2 separate regions of the Homo sapiens genome follow, and region 2 is linked to region 1. The links are contacts of gene promoters, found by promoter capture Hi-C in human tissues and cell types (Jung and others, 2019). All regions are on one chromosome and are shown on one strand. The core of a region is centred on a gene start or on the middle of the fragment in contact, and the rest is flanking DNA. Distances in the headings are between cores, read along the strand shown. Region 1 holds the start of BARX1 (BARX homeobox 1). Region 2 overlaps LOC101928014 (a long non-coding RNA gene).

Evidence for each region. Contacts are between HindIII fragments. The study calls those that stand out against the background at their distance.
Region 2: a contact is called between a fragment that was not itself captured here and the fragment with the promoter of BARX1 in region 1, in 2 of the 25 tissues and cell types used here (dorsolateral prefrontal cortex and lymphoblastoid cells).

Annotation. Positions count from the first base shown.
Region 1 is chr9:93,952,618-93,959,451 of GRCh38, reverse strand. BARX1 (BARX homeobox 1) reads left to right here and starts at 4,097. Exons shown (of 4, transcript NM_021570.4): 1 at 4,097-4,528; 2 at 6,265-6,556; 3 at 6,639-6,723. The coding sequence starts at 4,306. It overlaps BARX1-DT (BARX1 divergent transcript), which reads right to left and starts at 3,618. Exons shown (of 2, transcript NR_144455.1): 1 at 2,584-3,618; 2 at 1,530-1,939. LOC124902216 (a long non-coding RNA gene) reads right to left here and starts at 3,926. Exons shown (of 3, transcript XR_007061672.1): 1 at 3,812-3,926. RefSeq lists enhancers at 3,041-3,571, 3,572-4,103, 5,515-6,078, 6,079-6,643. The HindIII fragment of the contact is 32,678 bases long and covers 1-6,834 here.
Region 2 is chr9:93,840,586-93,847,980 of GRCh38, reverse strand. It overlaps LOC101928014 (a long non-coding RNA gene), which reads right to left. Exons shown (of 4, transcript NR_188449.1): 2 at 2,699-2,814. Among named protein-coding and RNA genes, the nearest start is that of MIR4291, 25 kb to the right of the region's middle. The HindIII fragment of the contact is 6,628 bases long and covers 1-5,466 here.

The DNA of each region.
Region 1 (6,834 bases), core at 2,848-5,347:
AAAGAAGAAGAAGAAAAAAGAAAAGAGGAAACGAGCTCCATTCCCGGCGCTCGCGACGCGTCCCCAGGGACGGACCGTGTGCTGGGTGGCTGGGCGCGCAAGGCTGCGCGGGGAGCAGAAGGCCGCGAGGTGGGGCGGCCCGGGGCCGCCTGGGCCCCTAGGGGCTGGACGTCAACCTGTTAGATAGAGGGCGTGGGACCCCCCGCAGGCGGCTGCTCGGACGACCGCATCCGGAGGTGAGCTGACCGTTCTGGAAGAAGCCTCCGCTCCACCGCGGCCCCAACTTCGTTTTGCCAATTAAGATGCAGACCCGCTGCAAGTGGGAGCGGAAACAAACTGCCCACGGCTGAGGCGGATGGAGGAGAGCCCAGCGCCCTCCAAGCGATGCACGATCCCCCTGCCGCTGGCTGCTGGCCGCTGAGCCTGCTCGAGTGCTCCTTCCAGACTTAGCTTCCTCCTCTGTACAACGAACGGCTCCTGGACCCGTTCGCACGCGGAGCCATTTCACAATCCCGTCTGGGAGGCGCTGGAGTAGGAGAAGGGTGTGGGTGGAGGGGAGGTGGTTCTGGAACCTACACCTGAATGCTTAGGGGATTCGGTTGTGGGAATGAGGTGGTCCCCTCCCTGTCCCGCAGCCTCCAAAGGGGCTGTAGGGTCTGAGGGGCAGAACATGGGTGGGGAGGGGGCCGGTTCTGCGCTCCGAGGGCCCCTCATCCAGCGACCGGGCGGCGCCGAGGAACCCCTGCCGCCCGGAGCCCCTCGCCGCCCGGCTGCTAGGGAGGGCGGCTGGCCCGGGGCGCTGAGGTCACCTTTTCCACTGCGCCCGCCGCGAGCAGGACGGTTTCCGGGATTTTCGCGGCGGCGGCTAGAGGCCTCGGGAGGGGGTGTGTCCCAGGCGTTGGGCTGGCAGCTGCGCCCCTGGGGTGGGGACTGCAATCCCAGACTGCACCCCACTGGGGAGGAGGCTTCCCCTCTCTGGGCCTCGGTGTCCTCGACAGGGAGGGGGTTCCCCTTCTCTGGGACCCTCTTTTTTCGGCCGCCAACGCGGCAGTGCCTGAGCAGAGGAGGCCCCGCCGCCGCCGCCGTTTTTGTGTAATTTTCGCCTAAAAGGGGTTTATCTGCTGGTTTGCCCTGGGGTCGGGCGACGGGGAGGCTGTGTCTATCAAGAGCCGGGGGATCAGGGACAGACCTACAAGGGAGGTGTTTTGGGCGACCGGGGGCAGGACCCTGGCTCTCTCAGCCCCTGGAGCCAGCTGCGGTCTCCCAAAGTTCCCTAGGCGCTGGGCATTCTCCTTCCAGCCCTCAGGGCCTCATTCCCAAAGCCACCCTCTGCTCATGCTGCAGGGCTGGCCTGGGGCTGCAGGAAATGGTCCTGGCCAGAGTCCAAGGAGCTGGGGGTGCACACCTGTGGAATGGGGTGAGGGCTGGGCTGCACTACTCTTTTGACTCCCCAAAATCTAGAGATGAGGCCTCCATCCTGAAAATGACCCCCTTCCCCACAAGCTGACCAAGAAGCTACCCCAGGGGGATGGCTCATAGTAAAATAAGTTTAGTGACAGCTGATGAACAGTGTGATCCCCAAATCCTTGGATCTGGAATCTGGGGACCCATTTTGAGGATGTGAGACCCTCAGGTCTTGAGCATGGGGCAGAGATGGTTCAAATTTGGGTAGCTTCTGTTAGGGCCCAAATAACAGGGGATGGGACAGAGGCTAGCTGGGCCTACTCAGGGGAGAAACCACCACTAGGCTATGCCCTTAGGGAGATGCAGAAGCCAGGGGGTGAGGAAGGGGCAGGGGCCCTGCTAAGATGGGGGAGGTGAGGGAGGAAGCCGGAAAAAGGAGCTTGATATGGCTCTGTACAAGAAGCAATAGTAAACCAGCCCTACTCACTGGAGTCCCTGCACCAGGGCTGCCTCTTGCTGGGCCTCAGTTTCCCATCTGAAAAAGGAGATGGTTGGATTGAGTGATACTATTGCACTCATCTAGGGAGGGTTCTCTGAGTCTACCCGTTGATAGGGGGAGCCTGACTGGGCTGCCCCAGCCTCCCAGGAGACACTGGCTTGTTTCTATTTGCCAGGTAGGATGTCAGTGGCTGCTTGGCCAACAGCGACAGGGCCAGCTTCCTGGTCTCTTGGTCTCTCAGGAGGAGGCCTGCTCAGTGTGGGATACTGTTGCTCTTAGTGCGCCCCTCTCCACCCTTTCCAAAGAACCATGTAGGCTCACAGCACCACTCTCCGAGGGAGTCCGAAGCAACTGGCGGCCATTGAGGCCACCTTCTTTCAGTCCCAATGGTAACTCTGAGTTCAGAAAGTCATGCAACAACTGGGAAGGAGAGACAGTGGGCTCTTGGGACTGGGATCTTACCAGAGTAAGGTAGTCTTTGTCCTCACTCCAGGCCCTACAGACAAAGGATCTGGGCCACTTCCTAGTCCCCACCTGCCCCCCACCCCCACTCCCGAGTCTGGGGCAGGTGCCAGGGACTGAGGGCCAGCCTGAAGGCCTCCCCACCAGCAGCTGGAGCTGGAGAAAGGACTTCAACTTGGGTGGGGGGCATGGCTGTAGGTGTGGTAAGCCCTAGTTACCTGAGGTAAAGACTGAGGCCCCACATGGAGCTCACAGAGGAAGTCCGGGTGGCCCAGGACACCCCCAGTGCATCAGGCGCTGACTGGCAATGGTGGATGGGGCTAGGAGGTAGGCCCTGTGATTCCTGAGAAGGAGGAGGGCAGATGCTCCTCCCCCAACCTCCTGGGGACACTTCTCCCCTCTTGCCTGGAGGAACTGTTTTCTCTCCAAACAGACCTAAGGGCTCCCAGGGTGCAGGACCCTCGGAGTGCAGGACCCCCTCACTGAGTTCTCACAGTCTCTCTGGAGCCAAAGGTCAGCATCTCCTCAGGACAGGTAAGGAAACAGGCCCAGAAAGGGTCAGTGGTTTCACCAGTAGTGGCAGGACCAAAGAGAGGAGTTCAGCGTAGGGTAGCTTTGGGGTTGTTCACTCCACGGCTTGGGCTTATACTCTTCTAAGGATGGAAAGAAAGATCTAGAGAAGGTACTGCCAACTTCCTCCACCATGTTGGAGCTTTTGAGGCTCCGCAATGGAGCCAGGTCCCACCAGAGTTTGGTCTTTACACTCTCAGAGCACCCACTGGCCCCCTGGCCCCAACTCCGCCCAGTAACAGTTTCTTGATGCCCCAAAGCTGGGAAAAGGCAAAGCTGCATCCTTCCCTTCTCCTCGAATCCTTTTCCTTTTCTAACTAGGGGGATGTAACCAGCCTACAGTCTTCTGGGGGCTGTCAAGGAGGATGTGTCCATGGATCACTTGAATTTCCAATTCAAGCAAATCTCGGCTGGAGAACATTTTTCTCTCAGGGCAGCCCGGAGAGAAATGAGGCCGTACATGGTAAACTGAGGCAGAGGTGGGAGGGGTGCACAGGTGCCGCTACCGCTCTGCCCCTTGCATCCCTGAACGCTGCCTCACCCTTGCCGGGTTGGCGGTGTTGAGCCCGGGACTGGAGGCTGCTTGAGACCACCTCCTTCCCAGCTGAGGAGCGCGGCCTTTGCCCCTCCTCCTCCCGACCTTTCCGGGGCTACCTAAAAGCCGATCAAGCCGCCGGTTTTCTAGCTGTTCCCATTTCTTTACCGCCCCCTTCCTCTGCCCCGCCTGCCTCTGTGCCCTCCGTCACGTCACAGCCCGCTGGCTCTCACGCCTCTTTTGGTCTCTCTGCGCACATCTCGGTGGCGTCTCTGGTGCCCTCACATCACTGTCTGGAATCTTGTTTGGCCCACGCCGTCTGCCTCTGCCCCTTCTCTCACCTGTGTCGTTTGATCCCTCCGACTCTCGTCTCTGGGGGTCTTGCCTCCCGAACTCTCCGGCTCTCTCCTTCCAGGGCGTGCGCTCCGCTCAGTCTCCCTCGGTCTCGGTCGGCCGGCCTCTTTCACGTGGCCCCCTCCTTTTTGGCCTCCCTTCCGCCTCCCTCCCTTCTGGGTCCCTCCCTCCGGCTCAGCCTAGGGGTTGGGGGCGGCGGCGCGGGGCGGGGCGGGGCGGGGCGGTGACGCGGGGCTGGCCGGGCAAGAGGCGCGGCGGCGTGGGGAGGGGGCGCAGTCCCGGGTTCGACCGGCCGAGCCCCGCGCGCCCCGCCCGCGCCCTGCGCCTCCGCCCGGCCGGCCGGCGGGGGAGGGGGCATGAGCCGGCGCCCGCGCGCCGCCCCGAGCTGCGGGCCGGCCTAGAGCCCCGCGCGGGCCCCGCGCCGGAGCCAAGCCGTCGCCGCCGCCGCCGCCAAACCGCGGGCGCAGCAGTGGGCGCCGCGATGCAGCGGCCGGGGGAGCCGGGCGCCGCGCGCTTCGGCCCGCCCGAGGGCTGCGCGGACCACCGGCCGCACCGCTATCGCAGCTTCATGATTGAGGAGATCCTCACGGAGCCACCCGGGCCCAAGGGCGCCGCGCCCGCAGCCGCCGCTGCCGCGGCGGGCGAGCTGCTGAAGTTCGGCGTGCAGGCGCTGCTGGCGGCGCGGCCCTTCCACAGCCACCTGGGTACGTGTGGCGGCCGCGGGGTCGCGGGCCGGGCTTGGCGGGAGACAGCGAGCTGAACCGCGGGGGCGCCCCGAGCCTCCTCCGGCATCGAAGCAGCCCCGGGAAGCTGCTCTGGGAGCGCAGGTTCTGGGACCGTCTCTCGGAGCCCTCCAGGCGGGAGGCGGAGGGTGCAAGCTCCAGGCCTCACAGAAACCAGGCCTCGTGCCCGCGGGCCGCCCGGGGAGGGTGTTCGCTCTTTCCTTCACTGCTTCCCTTCGGCCTCCAGCCCGGGGACCCCGAGTGAGCATCCCCAGTGCAGGCGCACTGCCAGGCTACGGACTCTCGTGGGTGGAAGCGACCTCAGGCCACGGGCGCCTGGGCTTCGCCGCAGAGGGATGGCCGGGAGTGGCCGCGGCTGCCCAACCCAGGGAAGTCGGACCTCTGGGGAGGAGGCCTGCGCTCCCGAGGGCTGGGTGCTGACGCGGGCCCAAGCCGGCCCGGAGTCCCCGGGAGCTCCAGCGGGCGAGGAACGCGGCCTTGGCCGCAGTGCGGACCTGCTTCGGCCTTGCCTTGGGGCCAGAGGCCTGACTGTGAGCAGCTGCCTGGCTGTCCCTTCTGGTTTCAGGTCGGCTGGGCCTCTGCAGGGCTTGAACGGCCTGCGCAGACCTTTTCAGCTTCTGCCCTTTCTTCTAATTTGGCGGGGCCTGCTCTGCCCTGATGGTGCTGTCTCCATCGCACTCCACCCTCGTCTTGTCTTTCCCTATCTCGCTTTCCAACCGTCTGCCGGTCGGCCTCCCTCGCTTCTCTCATTGGGGTCGGCCTGCCTCCCATCTCCCACCTTTTCCCTACGGGTCCTCTGCCCCACATTTACCTGCGCCTTGCCCTGCCCTTTCCGACTCCAGCCAGGCTAGGACTCGCACCTCAGTGACAGGCCTGTCGGGGAAGGGAGGCTCCTACGCTGTAGCCGGGACCCCAGCCCTTCAAGTCGCCTTCCCTGCACCCCCCCACCTCCTAGTCGGTGCTCCCTAGCCTGGAGACGGCAGGGCCAGCGCGCTCCTTCTAAGTCCAGCTGGGACTCGGCCATTCGGCTACCTTTCGTCTCCATCTGCTCTGTTGCTACTAATTCGTTTGAAGCGGGCACACAATCATTTTAGGACTGAAGAAAATGGAAACATCTGCATGGGGAAGCGTCTGAAAATAGAAAACGTGAACAATAATTTCCAGGTTCTCAGGGTACTTTGGAATTTCCGGGAAGCACCCAACTCCGGCCCAGATGACTCCTGGCCACCGCATGGCTGTTGTGCCACGCACGGAAGAGCAAATGTGCACGCTCCGTGCATGTTCTTTTTCTAACGCAGCAAGGCTGATTTGGTTGGAGCAAACGCCATCTTCTTAGGACCAGCTGCCGTTTTCTTTTTGGTTTCTACTTTCCCCGAAAGACAAGACACACTCCGAGTTTCTCGCAGCTGCAAACATGTTCATCAGGAACCCCGAGATCTCAGAGGCAGCTGAGGCCTGGGGAACTCCAGGACAGAACACGGACAGGGTCGAGGAGATACTCCCTCCCAAATCTGGGGAACGGCAACGTTGAGGAGGGTCTCCATCTGCGCCACCGGCGCCGACCGGCAGGGCGTGGAGGTTTTGCGCTGGGAGGCACTGGCCAAGCGCGAGCACCCCCGCGGCACGTGGTGCGGCAGTCCCTGGGGCAGAGGAGCGCGGCCGTAGCTCACCCGGGTCCTCATTCTCTTTCTTCGCAGCCGTGCTGAAGGCCGAGCAGGCGGCGGTGTTCAAGTTCCCACTGGCGCCGCTGGGCTGTTCAGGGCTGAGCTCTGCGTTGCTGGCGGCAGGGCCCGGGCTGCCCGGCGCCGCGGGTGCGCCACACCTGCCGCTCGAGTTGCAGCTCCGCGGGAAGCTGGAGGCGGCAGGCCCTGGGGAGCCAGGCACCAAAGCCAAGAAGGGGCGTCGGAGCCGCACTGTGTTCACCGAGCTGCAGCTGATGGGCCTGGAGAAACGCTTCGAGAAGCAGAAGTACCTTTCCACGCCGGACAGGTAGGGCGGTACAAGGCTGGGGCCAGCGGGCTGTGGGAGTGTGGTCACTTGCCTTGCTGAGGGTGCGCCCTGCTCTTTCCAGAATAGATCTTGCTGAGTCCCTGGGCCTGAGCCAGTTGCAGGTGAAGACGTGGTACCAGAATCGGAGGATGAAGTGGAAGAAAATAGTGAGTGTGCCTGGTGGCTTCCCACCCCTCAGCTTCCTGGGCCATGCCCCGGTGCATGCAGAGCTGCTCTCCTCTTTCTCCCCACTGAGACTCTGCCCAACCCCCCGATTC
Region 2 (7,395 bases), core at 903-3,402, 110 kb after region 1:
ACCTGACATTATTTGAAAGAGACTGGAGAAGTTTAAGCCTAAGGATGCTCTCAAAATCAATAGTTGCTCTTAATTAGGAGGAACAAGCTAAACCATAGGCCATCTAGGTCACCAGGGAGAATCTGGGAAAGAGATAGCTAAGAAGACTTCCACTGGGTACAGAATAAACCTTAAAGACTGAGCTCACAATCTAGCCCTCTCCAAATTTGATTGGATTGGGCTGCTCAGAAATTAATGTTTCAGGGCATTGTCAAAAAAGACATAAAGCAATCAGTTGGTAATTTGTGGAGTCTAAAGGATGGAGAGTAATACCAAATGAAACAGACAGCTTAACAGAGAGATCAGAAAAGAGACAAAGAGAGTGTGCTAAAACCACCCTCATCCCAAGGTAACTGTGTGCATGCCCCAGGCTGTGCCTTTTGACGAGCAACACCAAAGACTTCATTCTGTGTGAAATGGACTTCACTAAGATAGTCTAGCCAAGTCATAAAACACATAAGCAAACAAAATTAAGCTTCAGAGAGGGAGAAGGGCAATCAGTCTCCAAAGTTGCTATATTACCAGAAATGTCCTCATTTCCAACAAAATATTATAAGACATGCAAAAAAACAGGAACATGGACCCATACACAGGAAAAATGTAGGCAACAGAAACTGCCTGTGAGAAACTCCAGATGTTATACTTAATAGACAAAGTCTTCAAAGTATGCGTTATGAATATGTTTGGAAAACTAAAGGAAGCCATGCTTAAAGAAATTATAAAAGATAGGAAGATCATGTTTCATCAAATGGAGAATATTAATAGAGATAGGAACTATAAAAAAACAAAAGTTCTGTGGTTTAAAAGTGTAATAAATAAAATGAAAAATTCATTAGAGGGGCTCAACAGTAGATTTTAACCAGCAAAAGAAATACACAGTGAACTTAAAAATAGATCAATAGAGACCATGCAATCTGAAGAACAGAGTAAAAATAGACTGAAAAAAATGAGCAGAGCCTCAGAGTAATGTGGGACACCTTTAGACACACAAACACACATGTAACAGAAATACTGGGAGGAGAGAAGAAATGAACAGAAATAATATTAGATGAAATAATGGCTGAGGCCAGGCATGGTGGCTCATGTCTGTAATCCCAGCACGTTGGGAGGCCAAGGCAGACAGATCACCTGAGGTCAGGAGTTCGAGACCAGCCTGGCCAACATGGTGAAACCTCATCTCTACTAAAAAAACAAAAACAAAAACAAAAATTAGCCAGGCATGATGGTGGGCACCTGTAATCCCAGCTACTCAGGAGGCTGAGGCAGGAGACTCGCTTGACCCCAGGAGGCAGAGGTTGCAGTGAGATGAGATCACACCACTGCACGCCAGCCTGGATGACAGAGCGAGACTGTCTCAAAAAAAAAAAAAAATTGTAGCTGAAAACTTCCAATTGCTGAAAAACATTAATCTGCATATCCATGAAGCTCAGCAAAGTCTGATTAGGATGAATACAAAGACAGCCACACCCAAACACATAATAAAAATGCTGAAAGCCAAAACCAAAGATAAAATCTTGACAGCAACAAGAAAAAATTACATGCAAGGGAACCCCAATAAGATGAACAGCTGACTGCTTAGTAGTATGACACACTTAAAGTGCTCAAAGAAAAATATTAACCATGAGTCTTATATTCAGTAAATGTATCTTTCAAAAATGAAGGTAAAATACAACCATTCCCAGATAAACAAAACTTGAGATAATTTACTGCTGTCAGGTTCACCTTATAAGAAATATTAAAGGAAATCAGTCAGGCTCAAAGCAAGTAAACCCAGATGAAAATTTGAACCCACATTAAAAAAAGAGCCCTGTTAAAGGTAGTTATGCAATTATTAATAAATAAACAAATGCATATTTTCTTCTTTCTTCTCTTACCTGATTTTAAAAGCAATTGTATGAAACAGAATGTATATATGTATACATATGTATATACATGTATACATATGTATGACACTAACATATAGGTATTGTTAGGCCTATACATGTGACATGTTTGACAATAACAGCACAAAGGAGTGGGTAGGTACTGGAGTAAGGAAATGATCCCAGATGGTAACTCAAAACCACAGGAACCAATAAAGAGAACAAGAAATGATAAATAAGAAGGCAAATATAATAAGCTAAAAAATATTTACTTGCTCTCTATACAGAAGTGTCCATATATAAAGTAGCAATTATAACAGTGTATTGGTAGGTTTTTGACATATTCTGATGTAATATGTATAACAATAGTAGCACAAAAAGGAAAAGAGGACATAGAGTTTTCTAGAAGTAACATTTCTATAGTTCACTGAAATTAAATTAGAAGAACTCTAAGTAGATTCTGATAAATTGAGACTCTATGGAAGCCCTAGACCAACAACCAAAGAAATGACTCAGAAAATATAGAGATTTGGAGTACTTCTGGTTCCAAAATCATGGTGTAGAAGTAAGCTGGCTTCACCTCCTCCCACAGAAAACTAAAAACAAATAGACAGCATGGACATTATCACCAGCAATATCCCAGAACTCAAATATCAGGAGAATATATGTGGTTCCCTGGGCCACAGAGAAGTGAACAAACTCTGAGCAGATAGTAAGAAAATTGGATTTTCATATCCACAATGTCCCTCCCCACAATCCATCCAGCACCTAGCCATAGAAAATTTTCCCCAACTCACAGTTGGAAAAATACTGGAAAAAATAAGATCAAGGTGGTAAACCAACTTCCTCATCCTCTTGGGTTCACTGGCAGGAGACCCATTTCTGTTTCAACCATGGGAAGTATCAGGAGTGCCTGAAAGAAGAAAGATCACTGAGGATAGCCAGAGACAAAAGAGGGAGGCTAGACTACTAGCCCCAGCCTTGGAAACTTAACCCTGTAACTTGATCAAAGGAGACACCAAATCACAGTGGCTGTTCACCAGCACCATGCTGTAGGAGGTTCATCCCACAGGTCCCCTGGGCATGAGCCTATAGCCAGCAGTGCCACACTACTGAGTCATCCCCTTTGAGACCTCCCCTATTTAAGACCAGTGACACTAATTGTCTATTAGAACTGAGGCAAACCTGGGCTTAAGGCACCATCTAGTACAAAGAAGGAGGCAGAAACCTAGCAGAAAAAAAAAGAAAGAAAATCAATGGGTAAACTACAAAGAATCTCTGAGGAAACATATCCAATAAACAACAAAACGAGGCTGATTAGACTGGGACAAATAACTAAGCCTTCAATGCAAAGATATAGGCATACATCAACAAGAAACAACAGCAAACAGGGACCCATGATTTCTCTAGATTTACAAAGCAAGAAATCAGAAACTGACCCTAATGAGATGGCAATATGTGAACTCTCTGATCAAAAATTCAAAATAGGCCAGGTACAGTGGCTCACCCCTATAATCTCAGCACTTTGGGAGACCAAAGTGGGAAGATCACTTGAACCCAGGAATTTGAGACCAGCCTGGGCAACATGGTGAGACTTGTCTCTACAAAAAATTTTTAAAAATTAGCTGAATGTGGTGACACATACCTGTGATTCCAGCTGCTCAGAAGTCTAAGGTAGAAGGATTGCTTAAGCCTGCAAAGTCAAGGATAGAGTGAGCCATGATCATGCCACTGCACTGCAACCTGGGTGACAGAGCAAGACCCAAATAAAACTACTCCAATGCATAATCAAACCCTCAAAGGTCAAGGACAAAGAGAGGATCCAAAAAGTAACAAGAGAAAATAAGCAAATAACATACAAAGAAAACCCAATTTGTCTGGCAACAGATTTCTCAATAGGAACCATATAGGCCAGGAGGGAGTGGTATAACATTTTCAAAGTGCTGAAAGAAAAAAAATAACTGTCAGCTAATAATACTATATCTAGCAAAGCTGTCCTTCAAGTATGAAGGAAAGATAAAGTCGTCCTCAGACAAACAAAAACAGAATTCACCACCATCAGATCCATCTTCCAAGAAATGCTAATGAGAGTTCTTCAATTTGAAAGAAGAAAAACACTAACGAACAGAATGAAAACATTTCGATGTATAAAACTCACTTGTAAAACTAAGTATACAGACAAACCCAGAATACTCTAATACTCTAATTGTGGTGTGCAATCCACTCTTAACTCTAGTATAAAGCCCAAAAGACAAATCTATCAAAAACAACAATAGCTATAGAAACCTGTTAAGAGATAGGCGTCATATGTAAATTGAGACAACATAAAGTCAAAACGTTGAGAGAATGGAGTTAATTTGTAGAGTTTTAAAAAATGTTTTATTTGTTTCTATTCTTCTCTGTGTTCTCTCTCTCTCTCTCTCTCTCTCTCTCTCTCGACAGGGTCTTATTCTGGCCCCCAGGCTGCAGTGCAGTGGTATGATCATGACTCACTGCAGCTTTAAATTCCAGGGCTCAAGTGATCCTCCTACTTCAACCTCCCAAGTAGCTGGATTACAGGCACACATCACCATGCCTGGCTAATTTTTTAAAAAACATTTTTTGTAGAGACAGGGTCTCACTGTGTTGCCCAGACTGGTCTCAAACTTCTGGACTTAAACAATCCTCCCACCTCAGACTTCCAAAGTATTGAGATTACAGGCATGAACCACTGTGCACAGCAGTTGTCATCTCTTCAAAATAATTTGTTATATATCTATGATTTTTTGTAAGCTTCATGGTAACCATAACGCAAAAACCTATAATAGATTCACTAAAAATAAAAAAAGAATTAAAACATAATGCCAAAGAATATCACTTAACCACGAAGGAAGACTGTAGGAAAGGAAGAAAGGATGCGGAGTTACAAAACAACCAGAAAACAAGCAACAAAATGGCAACAATAAGTCCACATTTAATCAATAATAACATTGAATGTCAACAGACTCAATTCTCCAATTAAAAGGCATAGTGTGGCTGAATGGATAAAGAAATAATACCTAACTATATGCTACCTACAAGAAACTCACCTCATATATGAAAACACACATAGACTGAAAGTGAAGGAGTGGGAAAAGATATTTTATACTAACCAAAAATGCTACACATGCTAACCAAAAAAGAGGAGGAGTATCTACAGTTATATTAGGTTGAATAGAGTACAAATCAGAGACTGTAAAAAGGGACTAAGAAGGTCACCATATGATGATAAAGGGGTCAATTAAGTAAGATAATATAACAATTATAATTATATATGCACCCCATTAACTGTAGCTTCCAAGTATATAAAGCAAACATTAGTAGATCTAAAGGAAGAGAAGGATTGCAATACAATAATGGTAGAGGATTTTAACACCCTACTCTTAGTAATGGGCCAATTATCCAGACAGATAATTCGCAAAGAAACATCTAAGTTAAAAAAATACAGGATATCAATGAAATGAAAAGTTGATTTTTTGAAAAGATAAACAAAATCAACAAAATTTTAGCTAGACTAAAAAAGAGAGAAAGAAGTCTAAATAAATAAAATCAGAAACAAAAAAGAACTCATAACAACTGAGACCACAGAATTACAAAGAATCATTAGAGGCTACTATAAACAACTATATGCCAACAAATTGGAAAACCTAGAAGAAATGGATAATTTCCTGGACACATACAATCTACTAAGATTGAACCATGAAGAAATAGAAAACCTCAACAAACCGAGAATAAGAAACAACATTGAAGATGTGATAAAAAGTCTCGTATTAGAGAAAAGCCCAGGACCTGATGGCTTTACTGCTGAATTCTACCAAACATTTAAAGAAGAACTAATACCCTCTTTTTCTATTGATTGGAATAGTTTCAGAAGGAATGGTACCAGCTCCTCCTTGTACCTCTGGTAGAATTCGGCTGTGAATCCATCTGGTCCTGGATTTTTTTTGGTTGGTAAGCTATTAATTATTGCCTCAATTTCAGAGCGTGTTATTGGTCTATTCAGAGATTCAACTTCTTCCTGGTTTAGTCTTGGGAGGGTGTATGGGTTGAGGAATTTATCCATTTCTTCTAGATTTTCTAGTTTATTTGTGTAGGTGTTTATAGTATTCTCCGATGGCAGTTTGTATTTCTGTGGGATCGGCTTCTGAAACTATTCCAATCAATAGAAAAAGATGGAATCCTCCCTAACTCATTTTATGAGGCCAGCATCATCCTGATACCAAAGCCTGGCAGAGACACAACAAAAAAAGAGAATTTTAGACCAATATCCTTGATGAACATTGATGCAAATATCCTCAATAAAATACTGGCAAACTGAATCCAGCAGCACATCAACAAGCTTATCCACCATGATCAAGTGGGCTTCATCCCTGGGATGCAAGGCTGGTTCAACATACGAAAATCAATAAATGTACTCCAGTATATAAACAGAACCAAAGACAAAAACCACATGATTATCTCAATAGATGCAGAAAAGGCCTTTGACAAAATTCAACAACCCTTCATGCTAAAAACTCTCAATAAATTAGGTATTGATGGGATGTACCTCAAAATAATAAGAGCTATCTATGACAAACCCACAGCCAATATCATACTGAATGGACAAAAACTGGAAGCACTCCCTTTGAAAGCTGGCATAAGACAGGGATGCCCTCTCTCACCGCTCCTGTTCAACATAGTGTTGGAAGTTCTGGCCGGGGCAATCAGGCAGGAGAAGGAAATAAAGGGTATTCAATTAGGAAAAGAGGAAGTCAAATTGTCCCTGTTTGCAGATGACATGATTGTATATCTAGAAAACCCCATTGTCTCAGCCCAAAATCCCCTTAAGCTGATAAGCAACTTCGGCAAAGTCTCAGGATACAAAATCAATGTGCAAAAATCACAAGCATTCTTATACACCAATAACAGACAAACAGAGAGCCAAATCATGAATGAACTCCCATTCACAATTGCTTCAAAGAGAATAAAATACCTAGGAATCCAACTTACAAGGGATGTGAAGGACCTCTTCAAGGAGAACTAGAAACCACTGCTCAATGAAATAAAAGAGGATACAAACAAATGGAAGAGTATTCCATGCTGATGGGTAGGAAGAATCAATATTGTGAAAATGGCCATACTGCCCAAGGTAATTTATAGATTCAATGCCATCCCCATCAAGGTACCAATGACTTTCTTCACAGAATTGGAAAAAACTACTTTAAAGTTCATATGGAACCAAAAAAAGAGCCCACATTGCCAAGTCAATCCTAAGCCAAAAGAACAAAGCTGGAGGCATCACCCTACCTGACTTCAAACTATACTACAAGGCTACAGTAACCAAAACAGCATAGTACTGGTACCAAAATAGAGATATAGACCAATGGAACAGAACAGAGCCCTCAGAAATAGTGCCGCATATCTACAACTATCTGATCTATGACAAACCTGACAAAAACAAGCAATGGGGAAAGGATTCCCTATTTAATAAATGGGG